Regions from separate parts of the Homo sapiens genome. Here region 2 is linked to region 1. The links are contacts of gene promoters, found by promoter capture Hi-C in blood cells and fetal thymus (Javierre and others, 2016). All regions are on one chromosome and are shown on one strand. Each heading gives the region's core, a stretch centred on a gene start or on the middle of the fragment in contact. The rest is flanking DNA. Distances are from core to core; before and after follow the strand shown. Region 1 holds the start of PRR29 (proline rich 29). Region 2 holds the start of TEX2 (testis expressed 2).

What was found. Contacts are between HindIII fragments. The CHiCAGO score rates a contact against its expected background, and 5 or more counts as called.
Region 2: a contact is called between the fragment with the promoter of TEX2 here and the fragment with the promoter of PRR29 in region 1, in 8 of 17 cell types (monocytes, fetal thymus, neutrophils and 5 more). The highest score is 10.2, in monocytes.

What each region holds. Positions count from the first base shown.
Region 1 is chr17:63,997,021-63,999,892 of GRCh38, reverse strand. PRR29 (proline rich 29) reads right to left here and starts at 1,542. Exons shown (of 6, transcript NM_001164257.2): 1 at 1,469-1,542; 2 at 1,111-1,186; 3 at 819-925. The coding sequence starts at 1,528. PRR29-AS1 (PRR29 antisense RNA 1) reads left to right here. Exons shown (of 3, transcript NR_126169.1): 1 at 1-1,568; 2 at 1,971-2,128; 3 at 2,630-2,872. RefSeq lists an enhancer at 379-1,356 and a silencer at 1,610-1,659. The HindIII fragment of the contact is 13,369 bases long and covers 1-2,872 here.
Region 2 is chr17:64,261,857-64,264,589 of GRCh38, reverse strand. It overlaps TEX2 (testis expressed 2), which reads left to right and starts at 1,330. Exons shown (of 12, transcript NM_001288732.2): 1 at 1,330-1,422. RefSeq lists a silencer at 1,133-1,742. The HindIII fragment of the contact is 6,481 bases long and covers 1,055-2,733 here.

The DNA.
Region 1 (2,872 bases), core at 293-2,792:
TGCTTGCACGCACACACTTGCTTGCACGCACACACTTGCCTTCACAACCCGCTCGCACACACGTGCACGCACACCCTTGCACACGCACGTGAACACACACTTGCACACACATATGCATGTACACAGCCTTGCACACACACACGCATGCACACAGACACCCACTTGCACACACATACACACACACACTCTTGCACACACACACTGCCGCACACGGTTTCCCCCATTCTGTCTCCTGACTCTGCCCCTGCCAGCCTGGATGGGGGACACACCCTTCGCCTCCTCCAAGGGTCAAAATCCTACCTGGCTTTCAAGGGCTGGTTCTAAGATCCTCTGCTCCTCCAAGGAGCCTGTCCCCATCCCCCAACCCTATGTGCACTTGTGCTTTGTACCTCTCCATGTGCCATCACAGCCAACCTGGCTTTGTATCCCTAACCATTCATTTATTCATTCACTCGTTCAACAAATATCAGCTGAGCCCCTACACGGTGTCAGGCACCAGGCCAGACGCTCATGATGCATGGGGCAGGGTTACCAGGGTGCCTACCTTCCTGGAGCCTTAAGTCCAGTGGGGGAGGCACTACAGGGAAACCTCCTTGAAAACAAGACCTCGGTGGTCTGGACTTTGGGGGGTCTCTTCCCCGCCCCAACCTTTCATGGAGGCTGAAACATGACAGATGCCAAACAGCCCCAGCCAGAGAGACGGGCTGGCTTCCTGCTCCTCTGTCTCCCAGTTCTTTTCCCCCCTGAACAGGAACCCCAGGTGGATCCGCATCCCTGGACCCACAGGTGAGCGACCCCGGCGGCCCACCCACACGCACCTGAGGGCAGGGCGAGGCAGGCCGGGGCTGCAGCGCTCCAGCCACCAGGCGACTCAGCAGCAGCTGGTGCATCTGCGCGTTCTGCAGCATCATCAGTTCCAGCAGGTCTAGGAAGCGGGGTTCAGCAAGCCCACGCCGGGCCTCCGAGTCCCCCTCCCCCTGACACCCCTGTCCCGGGGGTGAAGAATGGGTTGGCGGGTTGTGCTGCGGGGACTCCCAGAGGATGTGCGAGGCAGAAGAGGGTGAGTGGTGGTGATGGTGGGGGTGGGGTGGGGGGACCCGGGAGTCTCACCTTCCTTCACGCGGCCTGGCTGCGGGGGCGCAGGTGGGACGGCCCACGAGAGGGGCTGCAGGAAGGTGACCCAGGGCTGGGGGTGTGCGCGGAGTCAGCCAGGTGGGGTGGGGGGAATGGATGGGGACACGTCGCGAGCCCCAACCCCCCCGGCCAGTGGCCTCCCTAACCCCGCAGGGGCCAGGTTCTCTCCTCCCCGCCCCGCGGCCTCCCTGCTCCCTGCCACGCCTCTTCCTCTCGGTTTGGGGCTGTCTCTCCTCGTCCCCCACCCCTCCAGGATCTGGCCCCTCCAGGGACAGCTCCCCACTCTGCCGTCTCCCAAGCTAAGGCAGGATCTGCTCCCGGGCTCAGCCCTCACCGTCGGGACTGCGCTCTGCGGTGGGGAGCGACCCCAGCTTCCGCCCGCCCCAGAGGCCATGGCTGGCGCCGGTTGCCTTGGCGACGCCGAGGACGCCAAGGTCTCTTCCCACGCATGCGCGGAGCCCGCCCGTGCTCCTGGGTCTTCCATCTCCCTGCTCCCTCCTGTCTCCTCCTCCGCGGACTTGGGGTCCCCAGGAGCCCTCCCCCGCCACCAGGAGGCCAGTCTCCTCCCCGGCATGTCCACCTCCCGCCGCGCTGCTCGGGGCTCCCCTCCCCTCCCCTTGCTGGTTCCCAGAACTGGGCCTGGGTTAGTGCGGGGAAGGGGGGTGTGTTTGTTGAGTGAATAAGCGAGTGACTGGGGAGGCTTGGTTTCGGGGTCCCAGAGCCCGATTGACTCAGCTGAAAAGTTCAGGAGAAACAGAGACTTTTGCAGGAGCAGGCTGGGGGCTAGGGCAGACGAGTGAGGAGGACAAAGGGTCTGTTCCCTGTCACTCTGACAGAGAGAGGGGCTTCCTGCCAGGAAAGAGTGGTTTCTGGAGCAGACCAAGGAAGGAAACACCGCCCGAATTCACGGAAGAGGCTGAGGACTCTGGCTGGAAACACGTGGCCGGCTTCTCGCCTCTCTCCTTGCGGCTATTTGCCCTGTTTCCTGGCCAAGGTGAGCCACTGCTCCTCAGACGAGGAAAATCGTGGTGACTTCAGCACCCGCGTCCCCAGTACTGTCTCCCGTACTGGAAAAGTTACCAAAGCACGCGTTCTTTTGACAGGAAGTTAGCAAGGTCTTCCTTGCTTAAGAACAGGTGAAGGGGGAGATCTATTTCTGCAGCTGTGACCATCCTAAGATAGGCCCCCGGCAGCAGTCAAGGAAAATCCAGACAGGAAGCTGGGCTTAGCACCCCGAGTAGCCCTTCCCCCACTCTCCATGTCAGCTCCCCTTCCTGCCAGTCCTGGAGTAAGAACCAGAAAGACCATTCCCACCTCCTCCTTTGCTCCGTAGTACCTGTCTCTAGGGGAGCAGGCTTGTGGGCATTACTTTACTGTCCCCATGGGTCTTATGGCTTCAACAGCCATTAACAAGCTGAGATCCAGGCACTGGGGTCACAGCCCCCCAGTGAGTAGAACACAGAGATGCCTCTCTCCATCTCCATTCTCATTCCAGGTAGAAAGAGAACAAGCCATTTTGCTCATCATCAACAAACCTTGACCAAGGAAGTGTCTGCGTGTGCAATGTGCCATCTGAACCCTGGAGGCATAAGCAGTATGGTCACTTGTCCCAGCATTGTTGGGAAGTGAAAATGTATCCATGGAAAGAGAGCAGAAAGATAAGACTACGCCCCGGGGATAATGAAAAAGAGAGGACTTGACCGCTGAGGGATGGAGTTCCAAGGAAGTCAGTCCTTGA
Region 2 (2,733 bases), core at 81-2,580, 260 kb before region 1:
TTGCATTAGAATCACCTGGAGGGAGGGGTGTCGAAGGCCATCTCAGACTTACTGAATTACAGGTTCTGGGGTGGGACTTAGAGATCTTCATGTTAAAACCCTCCAGGATGATCTGACGTTGAAGATCTGACATTTGGGACCCACTAATGCAGGAGACACACTGACACATCTGTTTGTTGTCTTGGTCCTTTCTTGTGGTGGGTGGGAAGTGCAGAGGGGCAAGGACTACGGGGGAAGGGGGAACTCTCCCTATGTGCCAGTGCTTCTGCCAGCCAACCCAGGTTCGCAGAAGATAAATGCACAATGGGCATTGCCATCCCAGGAAGCTCATTCTAAGTGAGAATTTACCTCGAGAAGTCACTTTACCTCTCTGAGCCTCAGATATTGCCTCTCTAAAAATGAGTAGTTAATACTATATAAGTTCTAAGCTCTAAGAACTCGTGGCCAGGCGCGGTGGCTCACGCCTGTAATCCCAGTACTTTGGGAGGCTGGGTCCGGCGGATCACGAGGTCAAGAGACCGAGACCATCCTGGCCAACATGGTGAAACCCCGTCTCTACTAAAAATACAAAAATTAGCTGGGCATGGTGGCACGCGCCTGTAATCCCAGCTACTCGGAAGGCTGAGGCAGGAGAATCGCTTTAACCCAGGAGGCGGAGGTTGCAGTGAGCCCAGATGACGGCACTGCACTCCAGCCTGGCGACAGAGCGAGACTCCGTCTCAAACAAAAAAACTAGTAACAGAGTTAGTTCAGGATAGGATGTGGTAGTGTGGTAGTCAGGTGGGGGAAGTACATAATGCGGGAAACTGGGAATTTGCCTTTTTAAATCAATGTCTGCAGTTGGATGGGGATAGATACGTCTGATGGCCCTCTAAAATGCAAATCGAGTGAATTTGCCCAGGGGGATACCCCTGGTTCTCCGCGCCTCAGTCACCCCACCTCAACCCCCAGCCCTCGTCTCAAGGGCACTTGTTGCTGCTAGACTGCAGGAAGAGGAAATTAAGAAGTGCAAAGAGCTGGGGACAGTGTGCAGCCCCGTTGGGAGAGTGAAGCTTTTGTCCCCCTCACCTGGGGCTCTTCCAGGTAACCCTCCCCACCACTCCTCTCCCTAGCTCCAAGGGCGGTGGCCCCTTTAACAGACCTGACAAATCGCTCCCCCATTTCCGCGGCCTCACCTCGGCGCGCGGTAGAACTGGATTGGTTGGGCCTGGCGTGCCGTTTGCTCCGCCCCCGCGCCCTCTGGTTGGCGGCGGCGGCCGCGGGCGCGGGGCGGGTCCGCCGGCGGGGCGGGGCGGCGTGTGCCCGGGGGCGGGCGGGCGGCAGGGCAGCAGGACCGCGGCCGGTGCCCCAGCCGAAGCCGGAGTCGCGCGGCCGGGAGCACGGGCGCCGGCATAGTACAATGAGGCAGCCAGCGGATCTTGGGTGAGCAGTCTCAGGGCCAGGCGGGGGCGGTGGAGGGAGCGCCCCGCGGATAAGGCCCGGGCTGGGCGCGGATCGACCCCGCGGGCTTCAAAGTACCGGTCGGGTCCGGCGGCCCTTGGCGTGGCGGGGCTCGGCCCCCCACCCCGCTGTCATGGTTCAGGTATTGAAGGGGACGCCCACCCGCGACACCCCCGGGCAATCCCTTCCTTCGGGGCCCCGCCGGATGGCTCGGGCTCGACTCCGGCGGGAGGAGCTGCCGGCCCCGTCCCCTCAGCCTGCGGTCCCCGGCCCCGGGCAGGGAGGCACCGTCACGCGCAAACTAGAGGAAAACGGCTTGCAATTTTATGAATGGGGCCCCGGGTTCCTGCCGCCCCCCTCACCGGCGACGCGAAATGCTTGAAAGTCGAGAACCGCAGTTACTTTTACTCGAATCTGTCAGAGGTTGTATGCGCCCCGGTGGTTTTTCTCCAACTCCTGGAGAACGCGGGTGGCGGTGGGGTGGTTTGTGTGCTTTAGCAGGGAGGCGGCGGCGTGCCGAAATCCGGGGGATCGGAAGGTTAACAAGTGACATTGGGCTGAGGCCTAGCGCCAGGTGCCTTGCGGGGAGGCGGTGTGGCCGTGGACGCCGTCGCTGCTGGCTGCTGAGCACGGAAACCATACGGTGGAACCGGAGAAGGCGGGGAACGGCTGGCCACATTGCACCACACGCTGCCTAGAGCGTACGGCTGCCATGGGAGTTGGTGCAGGGGAGTCTTCCCCTTTTGAAAACGATTTTTGGAAAACTTAGCCCCTCAGTGGGTTGATAGTTACTTAAACCATCGGTTGTTATGGTTACTGGGCGTCAAATGTAAGGGCAAAGTCTGTTTCCACCCTCGCTCTTTCTCCAGAGCTATGAAGTACTTTGTCACTGTGTTTTACAGACACTGTCCAGGGAGGACATCCTTTTTTAGAGTTGAGGGAAAATTGTGGGCTCCTTGAGGGCAGGGCTCGTGCCACGTTCACGTTTGAAGTGCCAGCGTCTTCACACCATCACCGCTCTGCACATGCATTAAAAGGAATGAGGCTTTTACATGTTTTGAGGATTCTCAGAGGATTCAGAGGAGTCATTTCAGGAGCCAGGTGTAAGCTGGAGGGGAAACAACGAGTGACTTTTATATGGAAAACAATAAGGAAAAATGGAGGGCAGGTTATCCTTGAACTCTGGAGTATGGGGAGTTTGAGGAGTCTAGGTTTGTGAGTTTTAGGGCTGGGTCACACAGAGACGCTTGTCTCATATTGGAAGAATGAAACTGCCATTTCTGTTAGCTCTTA